Linked DNA regions of Homo sapiens: regions 1, 2, 3, 4, 5 and 7 are each linked to region 6. Evidence: promoter capture Hi-C in 16 types of primary human blood cells and fetal thymus (Javierre and others, 2016). All regions are on one chromosome and are shown on one strand. Each heading gives the region's core, a stretch centred on a gene start or on the middle of the fragment in contact. The rest is flanking DNA. Distances are from core to core; before and after follow the strand shown.

Region 1 (3,946 bases), core at 1,171-3,670, 640 kb before region 6:
TTAAAAAGCCACTATTTGGCATATTATTACAGTAATCATTGACTTAGGCAATGCCTAACAGTGAATGGCAAAACTAGCAGGTGAAAATTTGTGAAGAACAGAATATAATCTCCAAATAGCCTTCCACAAAATAGTTACTAGTTACAAAGGAGAAAATACTAACTTTATAGTGAAAGGAACTGGTAGATATCACCTTATTTCAGGAAAAGTTAACATCATTAGTAATGGGACATATCAACATCATGTGCCTTCTGATATGATCCATCCAGAAACAGCACCACTGTTGGAGGGAAAAAGCAGTCTTAGGAGTTTTATAGTTTAAAATCTTACATTTAGATCTTAATCCATTCTGTATTAATTTTTGTATACCGTGTAAGGTAAGGGCCCAATTTCATTATTTGCATATGGATATTCAGTTTTTCCCAACACTTTGTTGAAGAGACTGTCCTTTTCCCATTGTGTGGTCTTGGTATCTTTGTTGAAGATTATTTGACCATATGCATATTCATTTCTGTGCACTCTATTGTGTTCCATTGGTGTATATGTCTGTGTTAATCACTGGAAGGCTGAGGCAGGAGGATCACATAGGGCCAGGAGTTCGAGACCAGCATGGGAAACATAACAAGATCCTGTCTTTACAAAAAATAAAAAAATTAGCCAGGCATGATGGTGCTCATCTGCAGTCCTTGCTACTCAGAAGCTGGAGTGGGAAGATCACTTGAGCCCAGGAGTTCCCTCTCCCTCTCTTTCCATGGTCTCCCTCTGATGCCGAGCCAAAGCTGGACTGTACTGCTGCCATCTCGGCTCACTGCAACCTCCCTGCCTGATTCTCCTGCCTCAGCCTGCCGAGTGCCTGCCATTGCAGGCTCGCGCCGCCACGCCTGACTGGTTTTCGTATTTTTTTGGTGGAGACAGGGTTTCGCTGTGTTGGCCGGGCTGGTATCCAGCTCCTAACCGCGAGTGATCCGCCAGCCTCGGCCTCCTGAGGTGCCGGGATTGTAGACGGAGTCTGGTTCACTCAGTGCTCAATGTTGCCCAGGCTGGAGTGCAGTGGCGTGATCTCGGCTCGCTACAACCTCCACCTCCCAGCCGCCTGCCTTGGCCTCCCAAAGTGCTGAGATTGCAGCCTCTGCCCGGCCGCCACCCCGTCTGGGAAGGGAGGAGCGTCTCCGCCTGGCCACCCATCGTCTGGGATGTGAGGAGCCCCTCTGCCCGGCTGCCCAGTCTGGGAAGTGAGGAGCGCCTCTTCCTGGCCGCCATCCCGTCTAGGAAGTGAGGAGCGTCTCTGCCCAGCTGCCCATCATCTGAGATGTGGGGAGCGCCTCTGCCCGGCTGCGACCCCGTCTGGGAGGTGAGAAGCGTCTCTGCCCGGCCGCCCTGTCTGAGAAGTGAGGAGCCCCTCCGCCTGGCAGCTGCCCCGTCTGGGAAGTGAGGAGCACCCCGCCCGGCAGCCGCCCCGTCTGGGAAGTGAGGAGCGTCTCCGCCTGGCAGCCGCCCCATCCGGGAGGGAGGTGGGAGGTCAGCCCCCGCCCGGCCAGCAGCCCCGTCCGGGAGGGAGGTCGGGGATCAGCCCCCGCCCGGCCAGCCGCCCCGTCCGGGAGGGAGGTGGGGGGTCAGCCGCGGCCTGGCCAGCCGCCCCGTCCGGGAGGGAGGTGGAGGGTCAGCCCCCCACCGGCCAGCCGCCCTGTCCGGGAGGGAGGTGGGGGGTCAGCCCCCACCCGGCCAGCTGCCCCGTCTGGGAGGGAGGTGGGGGGCGCCTCTGCCCGGCTGCCCCTTCTGGGAAGTGAGGAGCCCCTCTGCCCGGCCACCACCCCGTCTGGGAGGTGTACCCAACAGCTCATTGAGAACGGGCCATGATGACGATGGCGGTTTTGTGGAATAGAAAAGGGGGAAAGGTGGGGAAAAGATAGAGAAATCAGATTGTTGCTGTGTCTGTGTAGAAAGAAGTAGACATGGGAGACTTCATTTTGTTCTGTACTGGGAGGGGTTCTTCTGCCTTGGGATACTGTTGATCTGTGACCTTGACCCCAGCCCTGTGCTCTCTGGGGCATGTGCTGTGTCCACTCAGGGTTAAATGGATTAAGGGCGGTGCAAGATGTGCTTTGTTAAACAGATACTTGAAGACAGCATGCTCGTTAAGAGTCATCACCACTCCCTAATCTCAAGTACCCAGGGACACAAACACTGCGGAAGGCCGCAGGGTCCTCTGCCTAGGAAAACCAGAGACCTTTGTTCACTTGTTTATCTGCTGACCTTCCCTCCACTATTGTCCTATGACCCTGCCAAATCCCCCTCTGCGAGAAACACCCAAGAATGATCAATTAAAAAAAAAAAAAAGAAAGAAAGAAAGAAAGAAAAGAAGCAGAGTTGGACTCAGCGGGAAAATAGGCGTGCTACCACCTCAGGAGAGTTCCAGGGAAGAACCCCACCCGCACTCCAATGAGGTCACAATGGCTGGAGCTCTGAGGGGCCCAGGCTCCCTGAGCCAGGAGGAGAGGAGAAAGTCCAAGGAAAGATGGCTGGCAGTCACCCCTACTTCAACCTGCCTGACTCCACACACCCATCGCCGCCCTCCGCTCCACCCAGCCTCCGCTGGCACCAGCGCTGCCAGCCCTCTGGTGCCACCAATGGCCTGCTGGTGGCCCTGCTGGGTGGGGGCCTGCCTGCTGGCTTCGTGGGCCCCCTTTCTCGTATGGCTTACCAGGGTTCCAACCTGCCCTCGCTGGAGCTGCTCATCTGTCGATGCCTCTTCCACCTCCCTATTGCCCTGCTACTTAAACTGCGTGGCGACCCCCTTCTGGGACCTCCTGACATCCGAGGCTGGGCCTGCTTCTGTGCCCTGCTCAACGTCCTCAGCATTGGATGTGCCTACAGTGCAGTTCAGGTGGTGCCCGCTGGCAACGCTGCCACTGTTCGCAAAGGTTCTTCCACCGTATGCTCCGCTGTCCTCACCCTCTGCCTTGAGAGCCAGGGTCTCGGTGGCTACGAGTGGTGTGGACTGTTGGGCAGCATCCTAGGACTAATCATCATTCTGGGACCTGGACTCTGGACACTACAGGAGGGGACCACAGGTGTCTACACCACCCTGGGCTATGTGCAGGCTTTCCTGGGAGGCCTGGCGCTGTCCCTGGGGCTTCTGGTCTATCGTTCTCTGCACTTTCCCTCCTGCCTCCCAACAGTGGCCTTCCTATCTGGCTTGGTGGGGCTGCTGGGCTGTGTGCCAGGCCTCTTTGTGCTGCAGACCCCCGTGTTGCCCAGTGACCTCCTGAGTTGGAGTTGTGTGGGGGCAGAGGGGATCCTCGCCTTGGTCTCCTTCACATGTGTGGGCTATGCGGTCACCAAGGCCCACCCTGCCCTGGTGTGCGCTGTCCTGCATTCCGAGGTGGTTGTGGCCCTTATACTGCAGTATTATATGCTCCATGAGACTGTGGCACTTTCTGACATCATGGGGGCAGGGGTTGTGCTGGGCAGCATTGCCATCATTACAGCCCGGAACCTCAGCTGTGAGAGGACAGGGAAGGTGGAGGAGTGAGATAGAACTTGGGAGCCCGGGGGTTGGGAGGGACAGGGATAAATAAAGACAAAGACTGAAGACAAAAAAAAAATAAAAGAAAAAAAATAATTATAATAAATCCTAGGAAAGAGTGAAAGTCTAACTTCCATAGCACATTATAATATTGAGATGTTCAGTTATAATAAAAATATCACAAAGCATGCAAACAAATGAGAAATCTGGCTTATTTACAGGAATAAAATTAATTGAACTATCCTTAAGGAATCCCAGACTTTGGACTTACTAGACAAAGACTAAACAATTGTCTTAAATATGCACAAGAGTTAAAAGACAACTAAATGAAATCAGAGAAATGATGTTTGAACAAAATGAGAATATCAATAAAAATATAAAAATTATAGAAAGGAACCAGGTAGAAATTTTGTAGCTGAA
Region 2 (3,993 bases), core at 804-3,303, 560 kb before region 6:
TAGAAGGAAAGCCCCAAAGTAACAGATTAAGAAATTTAATAGGCTAATAATGGCTATTTATTTTCTTTATAAAGAAGTGGGTTCCAGGCTGGGCACAGTGCTCACGCCTGTAATCCCAGCACTTTGGGAGGCCGAGGCGGGTGAATCACCTGAGGTCAGGAGTTCAAGACCAGCCTGGCCAACATGGTGAAACCCCATCTCTACTGAAAATACAAAAAAAAATTAGCCAGGTGTTGTGGTGGGTGCCTGTAATCCCAGCTACTCGGGAGGCTGAGGCAGGAGAATGGCTTGAACCCGGGAGGCGGAGGTTGCAGTGAGTTGAGATCGCACCACTGCACTCCAGCCTGGGCAGCAGAGTGAGACTCTGTCAAAAAAAAAAAAAAAAAAAAAAAAAAAAAAAAAAAAAGAGAGAGAATTGGGTTGCAGAGGAAGATAAAACATGAACTTCAGCTTAAATGTCATGAGCAAAACCAAAGCGCTCTATGCATTTTCAGCATCTAGTCATTGTGTTTCCCAGAGCAGATACCGGGCTTGGCACGTACTAGATGCTAAAAAGTACTTGTAGAATTTAATCGAATTGTGACAGAGCACTCCAACCATAGGTTTTGGGTTTGAGCAGAAAACAGCATCTGAACTTTTAATTTTCCAGCAAACATGGCAAGTGACAGCAATTGCAAATGCCAAGAACACAAGCAACTATCACGGGCGTTTTTCAAACTGTTTCTCAGAATGCACCTCTAAAGAGATCTCCGTGTCTCCGGCAGGGGGCGCGTTAGGATTTCCTTAACACCATGGGTCCGCAGGATAAAAGTGAAAAAACCGTTTGTTTAAGAGGCAGAAGGGCAAGACCAGGACAGATATGTGTTCTCAGACCTCCTCTACTGTGGCTCTGACAGGGAGTAGGTGGAGGAGGCACTGCAGGGCAGAGCGAATGAACAGTTCCGACCACTCCAGCGCCTGGACCTGCTTCTTGTCATAGGAGGAGACCCCCCTGATTGCTGAAGCCCTCTGGCTCTGACAGCAGAGCCAGATGCTCTAAGAGACACGTGCTCTAAGTCATGTGTCCCAGCAGCTCGGGGGCGACATAAGGTCATGCCTCTCCTAATACTTTATGCGATATAATTCTGAGCCGCATTTCATCACGACAAACCTTTCTCCTCTCCCTTTTTCACCAAGACTCGCTTGTCCCTGGGGCTGCCCCTCACAGGTCTGCTCTGCCCCTTGAAGTGGAGGATGTCACCCCTCCATGGCCTGGGTTCCCAGTGTCATGGCCCCTGTGATGGGGCTCACCCACGTCCCACAGTCTGGCCTGTCTGGGATCACAGCGTTCCGGCAGTTAGAGATGCTTCAGTAGCGTTCATCTGGGAAGGAGCCAGGAGCCCTTTCTTCTGGAAGGCTTCTTGGCCCCAATACAATCACTTGTCCATCCCTCCCTAGCAATCTCAGTGGGGAGTGGAGGGTCTGGCTCCGGCAGAAGAAGAGGAGTCCTGACTTGCCTTTCCTCTCACTCACTGAAAGGGGCCATGCTGGCGTCTGTCTCAGGAAGACTCACTGTCTCGTCTGCTAGAAATAGAAGGGGCTGGAGTCTTTTAAACACAAATTCTCTTGCTTAAAAGAAATCAAGTTCTGCATCTCAGGGTGCCCTGCAACATTTTCATGATGGTTCCATCAGCTGTGTCTTTTCTGAGACAGAAAGAGAGAGAGAGCACGTAGGCAGCTTTGCAGAGCAAGGTGGCTGGATGGGAGCCAGGATCCAGGAGGTGACCCCGCTGTCCTTCTGTCCCCTGCAGAAAGTGGGCAGTAGGGCCTCCTGCCTTCCTGCTTTGGGCCCCCTGAAGGGCTGTGCTGTGTGGAGGTGACCTGCCAGGGGCCCGCCCAGAGATGAGAGGGGACTGCAGTCGCCCGCCTGGCTGGAGCTAGCTCTGGGCTCACATGGACAATGGGTGATGGCAGGCCACTCTGGGTGGTGGAATGGGGCGTCAGGGACTGGGGCCTTCTGCAGGGCTGCTGGGTCTTGCATCTGCTCCTGCCCCTGAGCCTCAAACTCAGAAGCTGTGATTTCTAGGCCCTGTTCTTAGACTTGACCAGAACATTCTGAAAAGGGGAGATGGGGGCAGTGCAGGAAAGGAAGGCTGGTTCATGTGCTTGCATTTGGTGACCATATCCCATCTTAAAAATAACCTCCTGCGTTTCACTGTTTCTTGCACCTTCTCTCTTTCTTGGCCTTCTCCCCATTTCTCTCTCTCCCTTCCTCTCTCTCTTGCTTCCTCTCTTCCTCCCCCTCTCTCTCCCCACCTTCTGTTTTCTACCCCTGGTGCTTCTGACATGGGCTTCATTGTGGGTTTGAGATAGGAGTTGGGGAGGGCTTGTTTTGCAGGGTACAGATCACAAAGACCCTGCTGATAAAATGAGATGTGGTCAAGAAGCCGATCAAAATCTAGCAAAACCAAGATGGGAACAAAGGCAACCTCTGGTCGTCCTCACTGCTCATTATACGCTAATTATAATGCATTAGCTGCTAAAAGGACACTCCCACCAGCGCCATGACAGTTCACAAGTGCTGTGGCAATGCCTGGAAGCTACCCTATATGGCCTGAAAGGGGGAGGAACCCTCAGTTACGAGAATTCCCTGCCCCTCTCCTCGAAAACTCATGAATGATCCACTCCTTCTTCAGCATATGATCAATAAAGAAATAGCCAACCAGCAGTCCCGGGCTGCTCTGCCTATGGAGTAGCCACTCTTTTATTCCTTTCCTTTCCTAATACATTTGCTTTCACTTGACTCTGTCGGCTCACTCTTGAATTTCTTCCTGTGCAAAGCCAAGAACCCATGTGGCCTCCCAGGCTGAACCCGGTTTAGGGGTTTGTCCTGTGACAGGTCTGTCAAGGGGAACAGAGCCCAGAGCAGATTGGCAGAAATATGGTGCCTTTTACCCAGCGACTCAGGTGTGTGCAGACGCCATATGTGGCCACACAGGGGCAGTAGGACACTGGGCAGAGGCTGTGCCCGTGCCACCTCGCATGAGGAAGCATCGTCCCTCATCCAGTTTGGCACAGCCTGAGGCTTGGATATGGGGTGAATCCAATGTGGCGCAGGCAAAGGCCGGGCCTCACTCTTGTCTGACTTGCCCTCCATCTGTGAAAATGTTTGTGCATTCCCCAACAGATTTATATAATATACATGTCTGTACCCATATATTATACATATTTAGAGCACATTGAAAGCAGAAAAGAAGAGGTTTAAAACATTAATAGAAGTTCTCGTCTTTTTGCGTGCATGTGACAAGGTTTCATTCTGTGGCCCAGGCTGAAGTGCAGTGGCGTGATCGTGGCTCACTGCAGCCTCGACCTCCCCAGGTTCAGGTGATCCTCTCATCTCAGCCTCCTGAGTAGCTGGGCATGTGGGTAGCTATTTTTTCTACTTTTTGTAGAGATAGGGTCTCACCATGTTGCCCAGGCTGGTCTAGAACTCCTGGGCTCAAGTGATCCTCCCACCTCGGCCTCCCAAATTGCTGGGATTACAGGCGGGAGCCACTGCACCTGGCCTCTTCTCTTCCTTTCACTCCATGCTGCATCATCTTGGTACTGCCCCGTGTCTACACTGCAAGTCAGAGTCTGCTGGTCAGGGTGTCCTTAGGGCTGCAGGCTGATGGGGTTTTGCAGGTCCACTCTGGATGGGGTGAGGAAGAATGAGAGGTAATCACTAAGATCCCATCTGCAAATAGTGCAGTTCTCCTCTACTTGGGGGCCCAGGCTAAGCTGGTACTTCTCCACACTTTGGATGTCAGGTTTGGCCATCTGACTTGTTTAGACCAAGGAAATGTGAGCAGAAATGATATGAGTCACTTCCAGGTGGGGGCTTTAAAAGCTGGGGGTGGGGTAGAGAGGAGAGGAAGAGGGGTCAAAGAGGAAAAACAAATATCCCCGTTGGGTGTGACTGCCATAACAAGATACCATAGACTGCGTGGCTTAAATAACAGACATTTGTTTTCT
Region 3 (4,018 bases), core at 1,322-3,821, 580 kb before region 6:
GCTGAGGAATGGGTGTTTTCAGAAACTTCAGCTACCTCTGATGCAAGTCCAGGTGATACTATCCCCTGTCATTTACAGTACCTGACCCTGGAATTGTACCCAGGGCACCCTCGTGCACTGGGATACGACTGATGCAGGTTGGAAGGCAGAGCTCCCTGCAGTGGGAGAAGGATGGCAGGGAGCAATGGTCCGGGTCTCAGAAGCGTAAGGGAGATGGGTTTGCTGCTGGAAGCCATTGGTGCATTCTCAGCTGCGGCACAGCCTGACAGCCACAGCTCACAGAAGGGAAAGGGGAGTGAAAGGGGAGGTGGCGGTTTTAGAATAGCCATCTTAGGAGCTTGGCTGGGAAAGGACAGTTATTTGAAATAACAGAGAATCAGGGAGATTCTTCAGAAAGGAGAGAACTGAGATGGTGTTAAAGTAGGGAACGCTATCCTTATCAGGGGAAGAATAATTTCCCCTGAATAACTAAATGTGGGTTTTTGTTGTTGTTGTTTGTTTGTTTGAGATGGAGTTTCAATCTGTTGCCCAGGCTGGAGTGCAGTGGTGCAATCTTGTCTCACTGCAACCTCCACCTCCCGGATTCAAGCGATTCTCCTACCTCAGCCTCCCAAGTAGCTGGGATTATAGGCATGTGCCACCGCACCTGGCTAATTTTTGTATTTTTAGTAGAGAGGCGGTTTCACCATGTTGGCCAGGCTGGTCTCGAACTCCTGACCTCAGGTGATCCACCTGCATTGGCCTCTTAGAGTACTGGGATTACAGGCATGAGCCACCGTCCCCAGCCTGAATAACTAAATGTTTTTCAGCATCTAACATTTTCTTCTACAGGTTTGCTTTAAAAAAAAAATAAGAAAGAAAGAAACACTTCATGAATTTACATGTCATCCTTGTGCAGGTGCCATGCTAATCTTCTCTGTATCGTGCCAATTTTAGTATATGTGCTGCCAAAGCGAGCACCAGATTTGCTTTTTTATAAGTGTTTTTTAAAGAAATGGTATAATGAAACATACATATAGAAAGTGCATAAAACAAAAATGGACAGTTTCACAAATAGTTGTAAGGCAAAGTCCTGTGTAGCCCCTAACTAGCTTAAGAAGCAGAACCTTGCCAGCACGCAGAAGCATCTACAAATCTTGCAGGAGGCAGCACAGGCGCACCATTGACTTTAAGCTTTGCACCTGTCCTGTGAGGTGGGCATGCTTTTTCCTATTTTATATATGAGGACACCAGGATGCAGGTGGGCCACATGGCTCCCCCAGGGCCACACAGCTAGTGGGCAGTAGAGCGAGAATGAAACCCAGGCGTGTTGGAGCCTGACAGCACTAGCGCTGTTTCTGCAGGTGCTAAGGGGGAGGCTTGGCCACAGGGGTGGGCGGCAGGGCTGGAGGGCCAGCCTGGACGGTGGACAGGGAGAGAATGGACTCGGGGATTGAGGTCACCCTGCTGGGCAGGGAACGTGGGAGGAGAGACACAGAGCAGGTACTCTGAGGTGAAGAGGAAGCCTGCTCTGCTCCCCAAGAGTCCCTCCTCACCATGCCTTCCCCTCACTTCTCCCTGACAGTGTCAGGAGAGTCCGTCGTTCAGCTAAAGCTTGGGAGAGGGCGCCCTTGATTCCTCCGATTAGACAAAGAGGACCTTGGCAGGCAGGTCTGGGGACTTGCTAGTGCTGGGTCACTGAGGAGTGTCCTTTAAGGCGATGGGAGCCGAGGGGAAGACGGAATTACTCCCAGAGAGAAGGCTCCCAGCTACGCTAGCTCACAGCCCTCAAGTCCACTGCTATACTGGGTGGCCTGAGGACTTGTGCCAAGTTCCAAGTGAGATAAGACAGAAAACAAGTCACTGGTCAAGGACAGGTCAAGGTAAAGCCAGCCAGAAGAGTTATCATTCCAAGAAGTTCACAAGGCCATTATACAGCCTTTGGAACGAGACATTTCTGCTTTTCCATAAGCAGCTGGGAATTTCTGAGACCTGTTTACAGAGAATTAGAACTTCTAATAAAGGATATGTGACCAATATCACTTTCACCCTTGGCCTCCATCTGCCCTGTTCCCACACCTCCCTAGGTAAACTTTATTCTAGTTTCTCATGCATCTTTTCAGAGCTTTAAAAGTGCATATCTGAGCAAATCAAACACTAGATTTGTATTTCCGCTCCATGACAAGTTTAACAATCTAGAAGTTGGGTCGGTGGATTGTCTCCTACACCACCGAACCTGTCTCTGAGTCCCAAGCATCAGTCAGTCTAGCTAAACTGTCAACAGTTGCATCTTATTTCGGGCAGCAGTGTTACAGGTGGGCTGCCACCAAAGTTAGACATCCATATGGCGCGAGTATTTCACGAGAGGCATTTCTATGAGAACAAAAGAAAAACCAATGTTAGTAATTAGAATAAACTAGAAACTCGGTTTTTAAGCTCAGAAAGCAGCCAGGTGAGAAGATTTCTGGGTTTTGGCTGAAAGCATCTTCAGCTGGGGTGGGAGCAGGCCGTGGCAGTTTGACAGGTTTCCCCACTTTACAGTTTGCATCAGGTGTTCCAGGGGCGTTTCTGAGTAGTCCATATAGCAGCAGGCGTGAGGACCACGCATACATAAGTTGCTGTGCTTTCTCTACGGCTTGTGTCAAGTCATCCAGTTTTCGTTCGCAGGGCTTCAGGAATAGAGCAGTTCTCATTTCAGTGATTCCAAACCAGAAGGGTGGGAGAAAAATATTAGTTTGGAGACCTGTAGCCAGACATTTCTGGAAACGAGAAGAATTCAGGATCCAGTCCAGATTGTAGGTGAGTAACAAAAACCTCAAAAACAATGAGCTGGAATCTAATAACGAGTGCATATAGTTTTCTTCTGAAATATTTTTCTTTCTATAGTCATTTCCATTTCTACCAAAGATTATCAAAGTAAGACTAATTTGTTCGCAAAGTAATGTTTGCAAAAGTAATGATTATTTGTGCAAGTGCCGCAACAATAGTGATTGACTATATAGGCTTTTTCAAAATTTGCTTTACTGGAACTTTTGATAAGGAACCTCAAGTTAGACTTTTAATAGCCTCTTGAGGCCAGAAGCCAGGCCACTAACTTGCCATCAGACTTTGCCTGCAATACCTACAGATCTGGGTGAATTCCTTTCTTCTCAGGATCCCCCAAATATTCTACAGTTCCTGGGCCTGTCAGAAAGTGACATTACTTACTCACTTGTAAGGTTAGAAACTCTTTTAAGCCAGGCCAGTTTTTCCAATGGGGGCTTTACTGGTTCCAGTAAAGTAAATAAACTTTACTGGTTTTAGTTCCTTAAAACTGTCTGGTCATGTCTGAAAATATAATATTCCAGTCAAAGCCTTGGTCATATAATCAGTGTTTCCACTTTTGTCCTGTTTCAAGGAGAATATACTTACTAAACTTGTGCAAGTAACTACAATTGTCATAAAAATAAGAGTACTCATAAATAGTTTCTAAATTCTGGAGGGATCAGGGAGGAAGAAAAAAAACGAAATGTTCTAATTTTGTTAACGATATACTAAATTGCTGTAAGTTATAGGTAGCTTAAAAGAAAAAAAGCTTTCCTTAAATCTGGAAAACAAAATATTTAAAGAAGAAACGTTTCAAATAAAAGTCATAAAAATTATCCCCTTCATTTCATGTAGTCTCATGTAGTTGATATTCTTGATCTTGGTTAGCAGTTTCATGAAACCACCAGTTTCTTCATAAGAGTTCTAGAAATTTGTACCCCATCCAATGGTGTGATCTTAAAGTTATCAGAAACCTTTATTGCAGAGTAGAGCCTTTTTTATGAATCTCCTTGAAGAAGCAATTTTGGGCTGTAGCTGATTACAAATGCTTTCAGAGAAGAATCAAAGTAAAACAATAACTGCCTGTGGATGAAAAAAGACATTCAATGGCCATGGTTAAAGATTTGATGAGAGTTCACCATCATAATGATGAAATTGTCAAAGAAATGTGGTTATTTCTGTGGCATATTGCATTTTAATACAATAACTAAAATTATGACTGATAGCATTATAC
Region 4 (3,551 bases), core at 438-2,937, 540 kb before region 6:
ATTTACTCTTTAAGACCCATCAGAGGCAGCTAGAAAGAGGGCTGACAGTAAGGCCTGTGTCAGTTTCCATGGACTGGACAAAGGCCGCCTGGATGGCGTTGCCTCGCACGCCCATGCTGTGCACATGCATTCAATTCTGCGTAAGGGTGAAAAGAGAAAGAAAGCTGCAGCTTCAACAGGGATGGTGATTCCGGCCGGTCTCCCTGCTTGCGCTCTGAGAGAACATGAGGAGGGGGCTGGGAATTGCAACTTCCTCAGTGGGCTTTGGTTCTGAGGGCATCTCACAGCGTGAGCATCTCGCTAGGATGCACTATGGGTTCTCACATTTAGATGCTCACAATACATAGTGTGTTGGGATCCCTGCACACAAATCAACAAATTCATCTCCTGCCCCAAAGAACAGGGTTTGTCCCCGTGATGCGGGAGCCCTGGCTGTGCTGGGCCCATGCTCGGCTGCTCCCTGGGCCACACAGACATTTTGCAAAGGTGACTTTGCACCTTAAACACTAACTTGAGCCCCGATTAGGAGGTCACTCTGCTGTAATTGAACCAAATCCACACGAGTTCCCACAGACTCTGAAGAAATCTGAGCAAAATGTGCAAGAATAAGAGGCTTAATTTGTTTCTAGAATTTTTTTCTAGTTGTGATAAAATCCATACAACATAGAAGTTATCATCTTAACCATTTTTAAGTGTACAGCTCGGTGGCAATTAAGTACATTCACGTTGTCGCGCAACCACCATCCATCTCCAGAGCTCTTTTTATCGTTCTAAACAGAAACTGCATCCATCAAACACTAACTCCCCATCCCCCTCCTCCAGCCCCTGGCACCCACCCTTCTACTTTCTGTCTGTATGACTACTCTAAGAACCTCACAGAAGTAGAATCACACAGTATTTGTCCTTTGTGAGTGGCTAATTTCACTTAGCATAATGTCCTCTGGTTTCTGATGGCTAAGAAGCTTTTTATAAATTAATCTTTTTAGAGATTTGCAATGAAGATATGTCTTTGCTGGTCCTGTGTGGAGTTAGTCGGGAGGACGGCGGTTGCCCGGGAAGGCACAGAGGGCTGCGCCAGTTCAGGAGAGCAGGTCTGAGCTGGGACTGGAGTGCCTCCTCCTGTTTTCCCTTCAAGCTCTGCCAAGGGGCCCCCTGGAGGCGGGGATGACAACACAGCCCCGGCTGCAGCCGCACACGTTTGACATAGATTGTTTCATCATGTTTTCCCACAACTCTAGATGGCAGGTGTGATTTTAGTCTGTCTTACAAGGAAACTGTCTCAGAGAAGTAAAGGAACGGCTCATGGCCAGCCAGCCTATGGCATCTGGACCACACTCGGGCCTGTCAGCACCCAGAGCTGGAAGACTCTCCCAGGCTCCTGTCTGCTCAGAGGCGAGCTGGGCCCAGGGGTGGCAGAAAGGGAAAATCCACAGCCCTGGGTTAGAACCCAGGTTCAAGCTGAGCTCCACTCCTCACTCGTTGGGTGGCAAGTCACTGCCACCTGGAACTTCTGTGTCCTCATCTACAGAAAAGAGATAAGGCCTCTTCTCATCTCTTCTAAGGACAGTGAGAATGAAATTCGACAACAAATAGCATGGCAGAAAATATGAACTACGCTGGCCAAATCAAAGTAAGAGGTGCACCATCACTTAAGTCCTTTCTCTCCAGGCCAAGGCACAGAACATGGAACCCAGCAAGGACCTCCCAGTTTTAAGCCCTCATTAAAAGCCTGAAAAGCTGGCCAGGGTGACTCAACTCTCAGTGTGGGTTTCATGCTGTCTCTGGCAAAGGCTCTACCATAGGATGTGCCAATTTCCAGTCCCCGCTCCCAGCGTGGCCTGGTGTCTCTCTGAGAACAAAAGCACTTGCTGAATTCTCAGAGGTGCAGCCTGTAATCCCAGCAACCCCATAATTAGGGCACAGAACTTGTTGAAAGGGAAGAGATGTCATTGGTCGGGGGCTGTCCAAGCACTGTGGTGACAGGGTGTCCCCACCAGGCTTGGAAGAAGGGAAGGGCGGCAGCCACACGTGGCCCCTTTGAAACAGCTGTGCTTGTGATCTGTACTACAGATGTTTGTTTTTTTGGGGGCAGACAAGAATGCTCGTTAAGATGTGAGCCACTGCACCTGGGTGAAGTGTTGAAATGTTCTAAAATTATACGTGATGATGGTTGCACAACTCTGAAAACACTAAAAACCACTGAATTGCTATTTCAAATAGGTGAACTGTATGGTATGTAAAGTTTATCTCAATGAAGTCATTTTGAAAAATTTTAAACACCAATTAAAGAAAGAGAGCAAGAGAGAGAGCCAGGTTGTTTCTCAAGGTAGAAGGCAAACCCCCAAGAGCAGGATTAAGTCACTAAAGATGGTAATTAAATGGGTCTGGAAGAGGACAGAGATTTCCTTACTTCCAAGCTTTACGTGGTGAGGGGAGGGTGTGGCAAGGGGGCTGGAGGAGACGGCCAAGGCGGCCCTGGAAGAAGGACCCAGAGAGGAAAAACGCAAGGGGAAGGTCAGCCGAGGACATTCAGATCATAGAAAAGTCTAATGCATCAAGCCAGTGGTTTGCTGGGGGGTCTCTCTGGACCTGGGGATTTTCCTGGGGAGTCAGAAGAGCTGACTCCTACCCTCGGAGCTGGGTGGAATAAAACAAAAGCCTTAAGAAAGGTGTGGGAAACAGCATGGCGGGTCCCGGAAAGTTAAACAGAATTACCATATGACATGGCAATGCCACTCCAGGTACACACCCCAAACAAATGAAGGCAAAAGCTAGAACCTGGATTTGTACATCCACGTTCACAATCACCAATAGGCGGAACCAACCCAGTGCCCTCCACAGATGAATGGATCCACACAATGTGGCCTATCCATAAAGTGGAATATTATTCAGCCTTGAAAAGGAAGACAATCCTGGCACATGCCATAACATGGATGAATCTTGAGGACATTATGCTAAGTGAATTAGCCAGACACTAAAGGCCAAATACCGTAGGATTCCACTTAGAAGAGGTTCCTAGCGTAGTCCAATTCATAGTGATGGAAAGCAGGACAGTGGTGCCAAGGGCTGGGGAGAGGGGATGGGGAGTTAGCGTTTAGTGAGCACAGAGTTTCCATTTGGGAGGATGAAGTTCTCGAGATGGATGGTGGTGACGGCTGCACAGCAATGTGAATATATTTAGTGAACTGTACATATAAAATGGTACATTTTATATTATACATATTTTACTGACATTTAAACAACAACAGCAGAGTCTGCAAATTTAGAGCAATCAGTTCAATCCAGTTTGCCCAGGACCTACCTGGTTCTAGCACTGAGAATACTGCATCCAGGGGACCTCCTTAGTCCTGGGCAAATAGAGATGGCCGGTCAGCCTGCCTGCAGCAAGCGTGGCCGCAGGTGCTGGGGAATGGGGGCCCAGCCTGGACAGTTGGAGGGTGGTCTCAGTGATGTTGTCTCTAGCCTGAGTGACACTGGAAGCTGATGAGACCCTGAAGAGTAGTCTGGGAGGTAGAAGGGCCTCTCTGGGGGGTTACTGGAGATGGGGGCCA
Region 5 (3,590 bases), core at 611-3,110, 520 kb before region 6:
GGAAGCCCTAGACATAGTCATGTAGCCTTAGTCATGGTTTTTAAAATGTCATTATTAAGATGACATAACCTATCAGAGTTATATCACCGTCACATGACAGATCATGACCCTCCAACTGCACTGAGCAGACACTCTGTTGGTCTCTGACCTGCTGGGTGGCCCAAGACAATCCCTGCCCCCTCACATCCTTCCCTGGACACCAAACGACACGAAGTCAGTTGATCCCACCTCCCCCAGATTTTCAGGTCTCAAAACTTAGTGGAGTCTGTTCTGCCATAGAAGGGAGAGAACAGCTCCACTTACTAAAACCATTCCATGCCTGCTCCCTTCCCTCTCTGCTCACATTGTGAATGCCCCGCCCACGGCTCGGGGTGTTGGAGAGACTCCACCCTGTGCTCTCTGCATGGCAGACCAAGGCCAGGCCCCAGAAGCCTGGTTTCTGGTCCCAGCACTGCTGACAAGCCGAGCACCCAGGCTCAGTCCTTTCCTCGTGGCCTCAGTTCCCTAATCTGTGCAATGGCTGAGGATCTATGGAACCTGGTATGTGAGAGCTCTCTTTAAACTGTAAAGAGCTGTACCCACCTGAATAGGCGTGTGTGCAATGTGGAGAGGCCTGAGTTGGGGAGTCACTATTTTAGAGCAGGTGGTCACCCGTAGCTGGCAGGAACGGGATTGCCCCCAGCACAGCCAGATGGTGAGGAGCTGCTGCAGGAATGGGATTGCCCCCAGCACAGTCAGACCGCGAGGAGTTGCTCAAGCAGCATGTGTTTTCCTGGTCGTCAGTGTTTGGGGAGCACTGTCCCCCTGGGTGCCCTGGTGCCTGAACAAGCCCAAAGGGGTTTCTTCCCTCCCACTAGGCACAGGAGCTCAGCTGGAATGTCACCCACACAGGCGCAGGGACGTGACAGCAGAAAAGCTTGTCACTGCTCACTGGGCACTGAGCTGGACCCGGCCTGAGCCGGCAGAGAGGTGCTGGCCGGGTGCCGGGGAACAGATGCCAGCACTGGGCAGCTTCCTGGGCTGGAAAAGCAGTGGAGGCCTCCCCTCGCTTGACAAACCAGGGACTCCTGGGGCCCAGGCCCCGGGAGGAAGAGCCCCCCAACACTCTAAACAAACGGGCTTTCTTTACATGTAACCTGGGTCGTTCCTAGGGGTGGAGGGGCCGGAGAAGGAAGCCAAAGGACGCTGCCAGACCTGGGACCTAGGGTGTCTAGAAAAACGACATCAGACCCTGTAATCCCACCAGGCCCAGGCACGCCCCGCCAGGCAGGCCACCCAGCAGCAGTGGGGACAAGCCCTTGGGGGGGCGCGTCAGCCTTTCTGCAGCTCTGTGTGCCAGTGCCGAGGACCCATGCCACACACAGAGACTGCTGTTCCAACAAGCTCCCTGGCTCCCAGGCCCACAGCGGCTCCTTGGAGGAGCCTTCGCCAACCATGAGCTAACTCCTCTGGCTGCTGGAGGAGCCAGGTGGGGGCAGCTCAGCCAACACCTTGTCTCATTATGACCTAATCTGTTCACCTGGAAAACGGTCACATCCACTTCCTCGATGGGCTCCCAAGGGCAGGGGAAGACGCAGGCACTGCTGACCCATCCCCTCCACACCTCCTCTCACCACGCGCTCCTGCTGTTCCTTCCAGCCTCGCATTCTCCACTAGAACCCTTTCGTTTCTTCTCCATAAGACACAATCTTTCCAACCCCGACCCAGCACTCCTGTCCCGCCGGACACCATGCTCTTTCACACCCCTGACTCGGCACAAGCTTTCCTCCAGCCTGGAAAGCCCTTCACTCCCTTCTGTGCCTTAGTTCAGTTCTCAGGGATTTTCTCCTGGGGGAAGTTTTGCTTGATTTGCCCAGGCTGGGCTGTGTGTACCCAGGACAACCCGAGCACATCAGAGAAACAATTATGTCATCGCAACATTAGCTAATGCTTACAGCACACCACACGAGCTGTGGTGCTAAAAGCTTTACATGTATTAACACATTTAATCCTCACAACAGCCCTATGAATCTGGGGTATCATCATCCCCATTTTACAGATGAAGAGACTGAGGCATAGACAGGTTCGGGACCTTGCCTGAAGCCACAGAGCTTATAAGTGGTGAAGCTGGGATTTGAACCTCTGCAGTCTAGCTCTGAGCTGGCCCCTAACCACTGGGCTTACTGCCCCTCTTAAGCCACAGCACTTACACCCAGGGCCTTTGTCAATGGTCGCCTCTAGCAGACTCTCAACTTCAGGACGAGAACCAAGCCTTTTATGCTGGACCCTCCAGTACTTAGCACAATGCTGCTCTCTTTAAATGCTGTGGAATGAATGAGCCAATAAAACAGATTTCCTCCCACTCACAGCGACCTGTCCTTGCTCAAATCTGAGCCAGCCTGGATGGGCTCAGAGAGGCAGAAAAAGACACCCAGGCTTCCTGGGATGGTGCCTCCCCTCCTGTCCCCACGGATGCCACCCACCCTGCCTGCCCTGACCACAAGTGTCCAGACATAGGTGTGCAGGCTCTGGGCCTGCAGTGGGACAAAGACAGGAACAGCTGCAGCTCATCCCAAATCCCAGGACTATGTGCTGGAGTTGGAGGGGACAGTCTGATGTGACAGACCTAGCTTGAGGGCCTCCTTGGAGTCCAGTGCAGGATGAGGTCATTTCCATCCAGCAGCTTCCTCCCTCTTCTGGAAAGTGCATCCCCCTTTCCCACAGGAGCCCATCCCTGGGGTTTCCTTTCTCCTGGGGCGTGGGGAGACACAGGATGAAGTTTTGGTGTCAGAACCACTCAGAGGCCAGCCTTGCTCTGAGCTGGCCGGGGCCGCTGGGGCCACCATGCTCAGCACATGTGGGGAAAGGGTCTAACTGGAGAGCAAAGCCAAGCCGACAGTGTGGCAGCTTGGCCATCACAGCCCAGTGGCAAGGAGCTGGGGGCCCGCAGCTGGGCCCCGTGGGAAGCCACCCGCCCTGCCCAGGTTACACAGCGTATACCTTCCGCCTTTTTTGCTTCAGCTACTTGGAGATGGGGTTTCTGACATTCGTAAGTGACTGACACAGCACGCACTGGAGAAGGAATATTAAAGAGCACAGTGGATGCTTGCTGCTATTTGTCTTTCGTTGGACTGTGTGTCTGTTTGCCATATCCAACACCCTCTCCTTTCCTGTGTGGAGGGAGCTCCCCATTTTGTGCAGAACAGCAGGCAGGCCGTGCAGCCTTCTCTGCAACCAGAGGACCACGTGCTCCTCTTCCCAGCTCATGCCCTGGTGACCAGGTGTGAGCATGTGACCTGAGCTTGGCCAGTCAGCTGTTCAGGCCCCGACTCTGAATTGGGTGCGTGTGAGTCTCAGAGGAAGGGATGGTTAGGGCGCATCTGTGAACCAACCCTGGAGGCAAATGTGAAGTGCAGGGGCGGTGGCATCCTCTTAGCCAAATTGTCTCTGCTGAAGGACTGGCCCGGGATCTCCTGCCTCTGCCTTCTGGATCTGCCCTGGTTCTGCCTGTTTTCTGGTCTTTACCTCCTGCCAATTCTGTGGGCACCTGACAGCCTTACAATAATGTCATTTTCTCTTGCTCACAACCAAGAGCTGTAACTGAAATGAGA
Region 6 (3,569 bases), core at 156-2,655:
GATTTAAACCTGGGACTAACTCTTGTCGTGTGACCTTGGAAAATATTCTTCATCTGCCAAATGGGAGAAATTGTAGATTTTATTGTGTGGAGTAATTTCCCTAATAGATGTAAACCACTCAAGTGTGTGACTGGTGTGTGGTTAGCTTTTGTTTCTATGGCCAGAATATATCATTGCTTGGGCCTGTGAACTTGTATTAATCAATAGAATTTGAATTTTTATTATTATTTTTTGAGACGGAATCTCACTCTGTTGTCCAGGCTGGAGTGCAGTGTCGTGATCTCTTTTCAATGCAACCTCCGTCTCCCGGGTTCAAGCAATTCTCCTGCCTCAGCCTCCTGAGTAGCTAGGATTACATGCACCCACCACACCCGGAAGATTTTTGTATTTTTAGTAGAGATGAGGTTTCACCATGTTGGCCAGGCTGGTCACAAACTCCTGACCTCAAGTGATCTGCTCACCTTAGCCTCCCAAAGTGTTGGGATTACAGGCGGGCAGGCGTGAGCCACTGCGCCTGGCCTGAATTTGAATTTGAAAGAGGAATGAGTGATTGGAGATGGGAGGGTAGGAAAAATAACAGGGGATGCATTTCATGGCAGTGCTGCCTTTACAAAATGTTTCTGGAATTTTGCCAGTAAATTGTCAGAATGTGGTCCTCATTTCTGCCCATGGCTCACTTACGAGCTCTAAGATCCTGACACACAGATTAGGAGTGTAGTACTTTGAGCCATTCACATATCCTTTTAATGAACCCATGGATCTTTGGCTTGCGGGGGTTGAAAACGTGTCATATTTTTACAGCAAGACAGAATATTGTGGCAGAACGCAATCCACCTGTATCCTGGCGGACACCCGAAGAAACATACGGCTTTCTGGCTAGTGCAGGTGCGAACTTTGACTCCATCATTCCCAAACATACCTTTTCCTGAAGCGGGGAGAGACCACAGAAAAGAAAAATCAATCTTAATGAGGCTGGGAGAAATCCTAGGCTTGCCATCACCTCCTGGTTGATGGCTTGTTAGTTGTGATTTACCTCACCTCTTATCACAACTCAGCAAGGCAGATAAAGCTCAGGGTAGCCAGAGGCATTGGAGGGGAGATAGGAATCTGGGTGGCTGCACGATCTGTGTGCACAATGACATCCACCCCCGTCCCCGGTGCACTGGCAGATCTTCCAGCTGCAGCAACAGCAGAGCAGGGCAGGAGCTGGGGTCCGCTCACCATGCCCCTAACATGGTGGCCCATTTGATATTGGTGTCCTGTTGCTGGGCTTATAGTTAGAGGGTTTTTTAAGCATCTCAATCTTTGGGAACACCCACTTTTATGTTCAGACTCACGCCCACTGTCTTACCTGAAGGCAGTAAGATCACCAGGAAAAAGAGTAATGCAGAAAGACAGAGGTTCATGGCCGAAGAGGGCACAGAGTTGGAACTCCCAGTGGTGTCTGCCTGGGAGGCTCCTTTATAGAGCTGGGCTGGGCTGCGATGGGTGGGGCTGGACCCTGGCCTCACTCTTCCTGGAGGGGCAGACTGAGGAGATCACAGGGTTCTGCAGAATTCGAGGAAGAAAAGGCCCTGGCCTTTCAGTGCTACCTCCTTTTCTACAAACCGCGGGAAAACCAGAGACTCAGCTAAGGCTGTCACGTTTCCTGATAGCAGAATAGGAGAAAAGACCAGGATCCCCATGCCTAGGCCTGAGCGCTTTCCCTCTGCCTTCAAATGTACTTTGATATAAACATGGCAGTGAAAATGTCTGCTCTGTCTCTCCTTTCCTCTGGAGCACCACTGAAAGCTCAGGAGCGCAGAGAAAGGGTGTTATGAAACACAGGCTGAATTTAAGCCTGGAAAGACAGTTCCGACACACGGAGTCTCTCAAATTGTCAACCAGTGGCCTGACCAAGAGAAGGTAGGGGCTCAGAACTAGTGGAGAAGGGACAGCTTCCTTGTCTAGCAGCTGACTTATTTACCTGGCTGAAGGCAGATACTGCAAAAAAAAAAAAAAAAAAAAGTCCTGGAAAAGTTCACTGATGGACTTTGTTCTCCAAATGGCTGGTATGAAACGTTGGCTAGGATGAGGGGACTCTGAAGGTTCTAGGAGAGATTTCTTTTTTGGAGTTGAGGAGTTGAAACTCTCCCTTAGAAGAGTCGGTTCAGTGCTGTGTTCAAGGTTGGATGCACAGTGTCCAGAGTGGAGCCAGACAGGGCTTCTCTGGAGTGACAGAGACTCAGCCCTGGAGAAGGGCCCTTAGGCCTGTCTCTCTTGGGGTGATGAGGGATGTCTGAGGGTGAAGATGACACTAACTTTGATTTTGTTCTGACCCTTAAGGCAGGCTTTTACGCAGGCAGCCAACAACCACAGGGCTGTGTGTGGTGTGTCAGTGGAGCATGGTATTCCTGGGTACACTCTGCTTTGCAGGCCTAGACCCTCAGATGCATTATTTAGCATCTCAGCCTCAAGAACTCCTCAAAAAGTGCATTGGAAGGTTATGCGTGGTTTTTTTTCAGGATGAAATGAGATACAGCTTATAAAATGCTTTGCACGCACACTGCCATACAGTAGGTACTCAATATTATTATTATTATTGTTTTTTGAGACAGTCTTGCTCATCACCCAGGCTGGAGTGCAATGGCCCAAACTCGGCTTACTGCAACCTCCATCTCCTGGGTTCGAACGATTCTCCTGCCTCAGCCTCCGAAGTAGCTGGGACTACAGGTGCCCACCACCACACCTGGCTAATTTTTGTATTTTTAGTAGAGATGGGGTTTTGCCACGTTGGCCAGGCTGGTCTGGAACTCCTGACCTCAGGGGATCCACTTGCCTCAGCCTTCCAAAGTGCTGGGATTACAGGCATGAGCCACCCCACCCAGCCAATACAGTAAGCACACATATTCTTAATTTTCTGGTTCTTGCTTACTAATCTTTCCCTACTCCCAGGTCATAAAACTATTTCCTATATTATCTTTCTTTTTTCTTTATTATTTTTCTTTCTCATTTAGCTCTATAACCACCTGTGATGATTTCTGTGTATGGTATAAATTAGGGGTCCTATTTAGTTTTCTTTTCCCCTATGGAAAACCAATTGTTTCAAGACCAAAAATTATTGAAAAGATTGTTGTTTCTCTACTGTCTAGCTGTGCCACCTTTGTTTTAAATCAGGCTCCACATATGCGTGAGTCTGATGCTGGGAACCTTAATCTGTTCTATTGTTCTATTTGTCTATACTTGCACTAATGCCATGCTGTCTTACTGCTATAGCTTCATAATAAGTTAATAAACTTTTAAATAAGATCTATCTATCATCTATCTATCTATCTATCTATCTATCTATCTATCTATCTATCTATCTATCTATGAGTCTGTCTCCAACAGAGCCAAATCTTCCCACTTATCTTTTTTGTGTGTGTGAGTGTCTTGGCTATTTTTGGTTCTTTTCATTTCCATACAGATTTTAGAATCAGATGGTCAAATTCCCCCAAACAACAGTTCATTATGCTGTTAGTCTTGATTTTTCTCTTTTGTGATGTACAACCTCCTGAATGCCTGTGGGCTGTTGTATTTGTGGATTGAAT
Region 7 (3,912 bases), core at 796-3,295, 610 kb before region 6:
GACTTACGTAGTTAGCTAAGACTGAAAACTAGTCTCACTCAGTTATTACATTCTGGGAATAATTGAACTGTTTAGATTTGCATTAAACCTTCACTTTTTTTTCTTCTTCATCTAGGGGCTCTTGGCCAGCTGGGAGTGGGGCTTGCTAATCTTTTGAGGTAAGAGCCCTAAAAACTTGAAATTTAAAATCTGAGTTGTTAAGTATATGGAGCTCATTGGGATGCCTTTTAAACTTCTTTTCTCTCTCCTCTTGCTCCTTACCATTGTTAAGATATATCTAAATAACTGCTATATATAGCTATAGATATAGATATATAGAGATATAGATATAGATACAGATTTTTTTTTTTTGAGTTGGAGCCTCAGTCTGTCACCCAGGCTGTAGTGCAGTGGTGCAATCCCGGCTCACTATAACCTCCACCTCCTGGGTTCAAGTGATTCTCCTGCCTCAGCCTCCCGAGTAGCTGGGACTACAGGCACATACCACCACGCCTGGCTAATTTTTTTTATTTTTGGTAGAGATGGGCTCTCGCTATGTTGCCCAGGCTGGTCTTCTAACTCCTGGCCTCAAGTGATCTGCCCGCCTCAAGTGATCTGCCCACCTCACCTTTCCAAAGTGCTGGGATTACAGATGTGAGCTACTGTGCCCAGCCTAAAATACATTTTATTTTGCCTCTGAATATCCCAGACTTGTCGTAGGCCCTTGACTTAACATCTCCAGACTGGTCCTTTGCTCTCTTTCTGTTTCCTAACTTAGGCAAAGTGAGACACACATCTCCCAGTGAATCACTTTGACTTTTAGTTGTTTGAGAACCAAGGGAAGTACAGGTGCAAACTGGAAGGGAAGAGTGTGGGATTTGGAGAGAATGGGGTAAGAGAATAAGAAGAGGGGAGAGAAGATAAGAAGAATGATGAGGAAGAGGTAAAAACTCTGGGGGGTAATGGGAAGAAACCGGTGACAAGCATAGGGTTAACAGTCAGGTGAGAGGAGAAACAGAAGAGAGAGTCGTGGGCAGGGAAATAGAGGCCTGAGTGTGAGAGAGATAAGAATTGAAGGTGTGGGAATTGAGGATGAAGAGGAAGTAGAGATTTGGAGGCTGGCAGAAAATTACAGTTCTTATTTTAAAAGACTTCTCACAGGACTCATTGCATTCTAGATGTTGCCAACTTGTGTGGGTTAATTTTCCCTTTAGGAAACGATTTGGAAAGGACAGTGTGATTTTGTCTGACATAAGGAAACCCCCCGATCATGTCTTTCACAGTGGTAAGAGATCAATAGGTCTTGCTTTTATTTTTATCTCTAATTTTCAAGGCACAAAGAGGTGGCTCGTGAAATTGGTGCGTGCAGCAGCTCATAGCTGAATTTATGACTCAAAGAGAAGTTATTGAGGCACTGGTATTTCACTTAAAAATACGTATTTTACCCAAAGGATTATAAATCATGCTGCTATAAAGACACATGCACACGTATGTTTATTGCGGCACTATTCACAATAGCAAAGACTTGGAACCAACCCAAATGTCCAACAATGATAGACTGGATTAAGAAAATTTGGCACATATACACCATGAAATACTATGCAGCCATAAAAAATGGTGAGTTCATGTCCTTTGTAGGGACATGGATGAAGCTGGAAACCATCATTCTGAGCAAAGTATCGCAAGGACGAAAAACCAAACACCGCATGTTCTCACTCATAGGTGGGAATTGAACATTGAGAACACATGGACACAGGAAGGGGAACATCACACACTGGGGCCTGTTGTGGGGTGGGGGAGGGGGGAGGGATAGCATTAGGAGACACACCTAATGTTAAATGACTAGTTAATGGGTGCAGCACACCAGCATGGCACATGTATACATATGTAACAAACCTGCACATTTTACACATGTACCCTAAAACTTAAAGTATAATAAAAAAATATATATTTTTAATGCTGCTGCTTGTTCAAGTGATAAAAGAACAGAAGAATTCTTTTGACCTTGAAGTTTTTGGAATAATATATTTTGATGTTATTGGAAATGAAAACTTTGTTTCCTGTCTTTTTGTGTTTTAAGTTAACTTATTGACTTGGAGAGAATACAAACAAAAATCAAGAATAGAAACGAAAAGACACATACACACACACACACATAGACACTCACACACACATACACGCACATACACACATACACGCACATACACACATACACACATGCACATACACACATACACAGACACACGCACACACATACCCACACACGCACACACACAGACACACATACACACACATACACACATGCACACACATACACGCACACACACATACACATACACGCACACACACGCACATACACATACACACACATCCACACAGACACACACACACACCTCTCAAGCTCTTCTAATCAGGATTTTACTGCTTCAAAAATGTTTTTATGTCTAGGCATGGTGGCTCACACCTGTAATCCCAGCAATTTGGGAGGCTGAGGTGGGAGGATCACTTGAGTCTGGGAGTTCAAGACTAGCCTGGGCAATATAGTGAGACCCTGTCTCCACAAGAAATTAAAAATGAGCTGGGCATGGTGGCACGTGCCTGTAGTCCTAGCTACTTGGGAGGACCACTTGAGCCCACTAGATGGAGGCTGCAGTGAGCCATGATTGCATCACTGCACTCCAGCCTGAGCGACAGAGCAAGACTCTGTCCCCGCTGCCCCAAAAATAAGGTTTTGTAATGCCCCCAGTCCTTCCTGGTTCAGCATCAGCCTTTTGCTGCTCACCATGGGGAAGAGTGACAGTTTGCTGTAAGTGGGGAAAATTGGCACAGAGCAAGATCAACTTTACCTCTGTGTAATTAAGTATGATAAACTCATGGTTTGTGGGTTTTCTATACCAAGGTGGTGGTGGTGGTGAATAAGTCCGTTTCTCTATTCCTTTTCAAATGTGCACCTTGGAAGCAGAGTGAAGCCACTCTGTGTATACAGGGCTGGGAGGAACAGCACCCACTCTGGAGCCCGATGCCTAGCTGCAGCCCCATTTCCTCCACTTGTTCTCTGATCCTGGCAAGTTGCTTAACCTCTCGGTGCCTGTTTCCTTATCAGTAAAATGTGTTTACCTCCAAGGCTGTGTGGGAAAGAAATGGACTTATGTCCTTAGGACAGGGTCTGGCCCAGGCAGGTCCTATAGGAGCATTTGCTGTCATTACCTGGCGCGGGGTGGTTGTGACTTGTGATTCTTCCGTAAGAAAAATGCTGCCTAGTGCCCAGCTGTCTTAGTTATTGCGTGGCTACCAGTGAAATTCACAAGTCAACGGGGGAAAGGGGAAAGGTCCATTTAGTTCACAACCCTTTTCACGTTCGTGGTTTCAATTTATGTTCCTTGCAGGTCCATTCATTTATTCTGATATCTTGGATTACAAGAATCTTCGGGAGATCGTGGTAAACAACCGCATCACCTGGCTGTTTCATTACAGCGCTTTGCTCAGCGCCTTTGGAGAAGCAAATGTTTCCCTGGCGAGAGCAGTGAATATAACTGGTAAGCATCTGGCTCTGGCTGGATGTGATTTATTTGCCAGTTTTTCTAGTTCTTTAAGAAGAGATGTTTTCAGATTCTGATAGTGTCTGTTCATTTCAGGCCTGCATAACATCCTGGATGTCGCTGCGGAACACAATCTGCAATTGTTTGTGCCTAGCACGATTGGGGCTTTTGGACCCACCTCTCCCCGGAACCCAACCCCCGATCTCTGTATTCAGAGACCCAGGACCATCTATGGGGTGTCCAAGGTCCACGCGGAGCTCATGGGAGAAGTAAGCATCACTCAGCTGGATTGCTGAATGTGCCCTGGCTGTCACGATTTGCTGTTTGCTTTCTCATTCGTTTTGCCTCCAAGGCCTGGTGATTCATCCCTGGAGGAACTTTACCTCTTCTTGGA

The links. Contacts are between HindIII fragments. The CHiCAGO score rates a contact against its expected background, and 5 or more counts as called.
Region 1: a contact is called between the fragment with the promoter of SLC35G5 here and the fragment with the promoter of DEFB136 in region 6, in 2 of 17 cell types (naive B cells and total B cells). The highest score is 7.4, in naive B cells.
Region 2: a contact is called between a fragment that was not itself captured here and the fragment with the promoter of DEFB136 in region 6, in 12 of 17 cell types (non-activated CD4 T cells, total B cells, naive B cells and 9 more). The highest score is 12.7, in non-activated CD4 T cells.
Region 3: a fragment that was not itself captured here is called in contact with the fragment with the promoter of DEFB136 in region 6 in 2 of 17 cell types (total B cells and naive B cells); the score reaches 6.3 in total B cells.
Region 4: a contact is called between a fragment that was not itself captured here and the fragment with the promoter of DEFB136 in region 6, in 1 of 17 cell types (naive CD4 T cells). The highest score is 5.2, in naive CD4 T cells.
Region 5: a contact is called between a fragment that was not itself captured here and the fragment with the promoter of DEFB136 in region 6, in 1 of 17 cell types (naive B cells). The highest score is 5.7, in naive B cells.
Region 7: a contact is called between a fragment that was not itself captured here and the fragment with the promoter of DEFB136 in region 6, in 1 of 17 cell types (total B cells). The highest score is 9.4, in total B cells.

What each region holds. Positions count from the first base shown.
Region 1 is chr8:11,328,592-11,332,537 of GRCh38, forward strand. SLC35G5 (solute carrier family 35 member G5) reads left to right here and starts at 2,421. Exons shown (of 1, transcript NM_054028.2): 1 at 2,421-3,769. The coding sequence starts at 2,516. The coding sequence ends at 3,532. It also overlaps a transcript of MTMR9 not described here. The HindIII fragment of the contact is 5,485 bases long and covers 1-3,946 here.
Region 2 is chr8:11,410,902-11,414,894 of GRCh38, forward strand. All of the region lies in intron 3 of FAM167A-AS1 (FAM167A antisense RNA 1), which reads left to right. Among named protein-coding and RNA genes, the nearest start is that of FAM167A-AS1, 44 kb to the left of the region's middle. RefSeq lists an enhancer at 599-893. The HindIII fragment of the contact is 4,489 bases long and covers 1-3,993 here.
Region 3 is chr8:11,391,558-11,395,575 of GRCh38, forward strand. The region is part of intron 2 of FAM167A-AS1 (FAM167A antisense RNA 1); the gene reads left to right. It also overlaps the pseudogene RNU6-1084P. Among named protein-coding and RNA genes, the nearest start is that of FAM167A-AS1, 25 kb to the left of the region's middle. The HindIII fragment of the contact is 1,960 bases long and covers 1,592-3,551 here.
Region 4 is chr8:11,428,316-11,431,866 of GRCh38, forward strand. All of the region lies in intron 2 of FAM167A (family with sequence similarity 167 member A), which reads right to left. The region is part of intron 3 of FAM167A-AS1 (FAM167A antisense RNA 1); the gene reads left to right. Among named protein-coding and RNA genes, the nearest start is that of FAM167A, 37 kb to the right of the region's middle. The HindIII fragment of the contact is 1,455 bases long and covers 961-2,415 here.
Region 5 is chr8:11,448,387-11,451,976 of GRCh38, forward strand. All of the region lies in intron 1 of FAM167A (family with sequence similarity 167 member A), which reads right to left. Among named protein-coding and RNA genes, the nearest start is that of FAM167A, 17 kb to the right of the region's middle. RefSeq lists an enhancer at 3,322-3,590. The HindIII fragment of the contact is 204 bases long and covers 1,759-1,962 here.
Region 6 is chr8:11,973,194-11,976,762 of GRCh38, forward strand. DEFB136 (defensin beta 136) reads right to left here and starts at 1,406. Exons shown (of 2, transcript NM_001033018.2): 1 at 1,352-1,406; 2 at 744-925. The coding sequence starts at 1,406. The coding sequence ends at 744. The HindIII fragment of the contact is 18,049 bases long and covers 1-3,569 here.
Region 7 is chr8:11,358,021-11,361,932 of GRCh38, forward strand. It overlaps the pseudogene TDH. Among named protein-coding and RNA genes, the nearest start is that of FAM167A-AS1, 8.4 kb to the right of the region's middle. The HindIII fragment of the contact is 4,642 bases long and covers 1-3,912 here.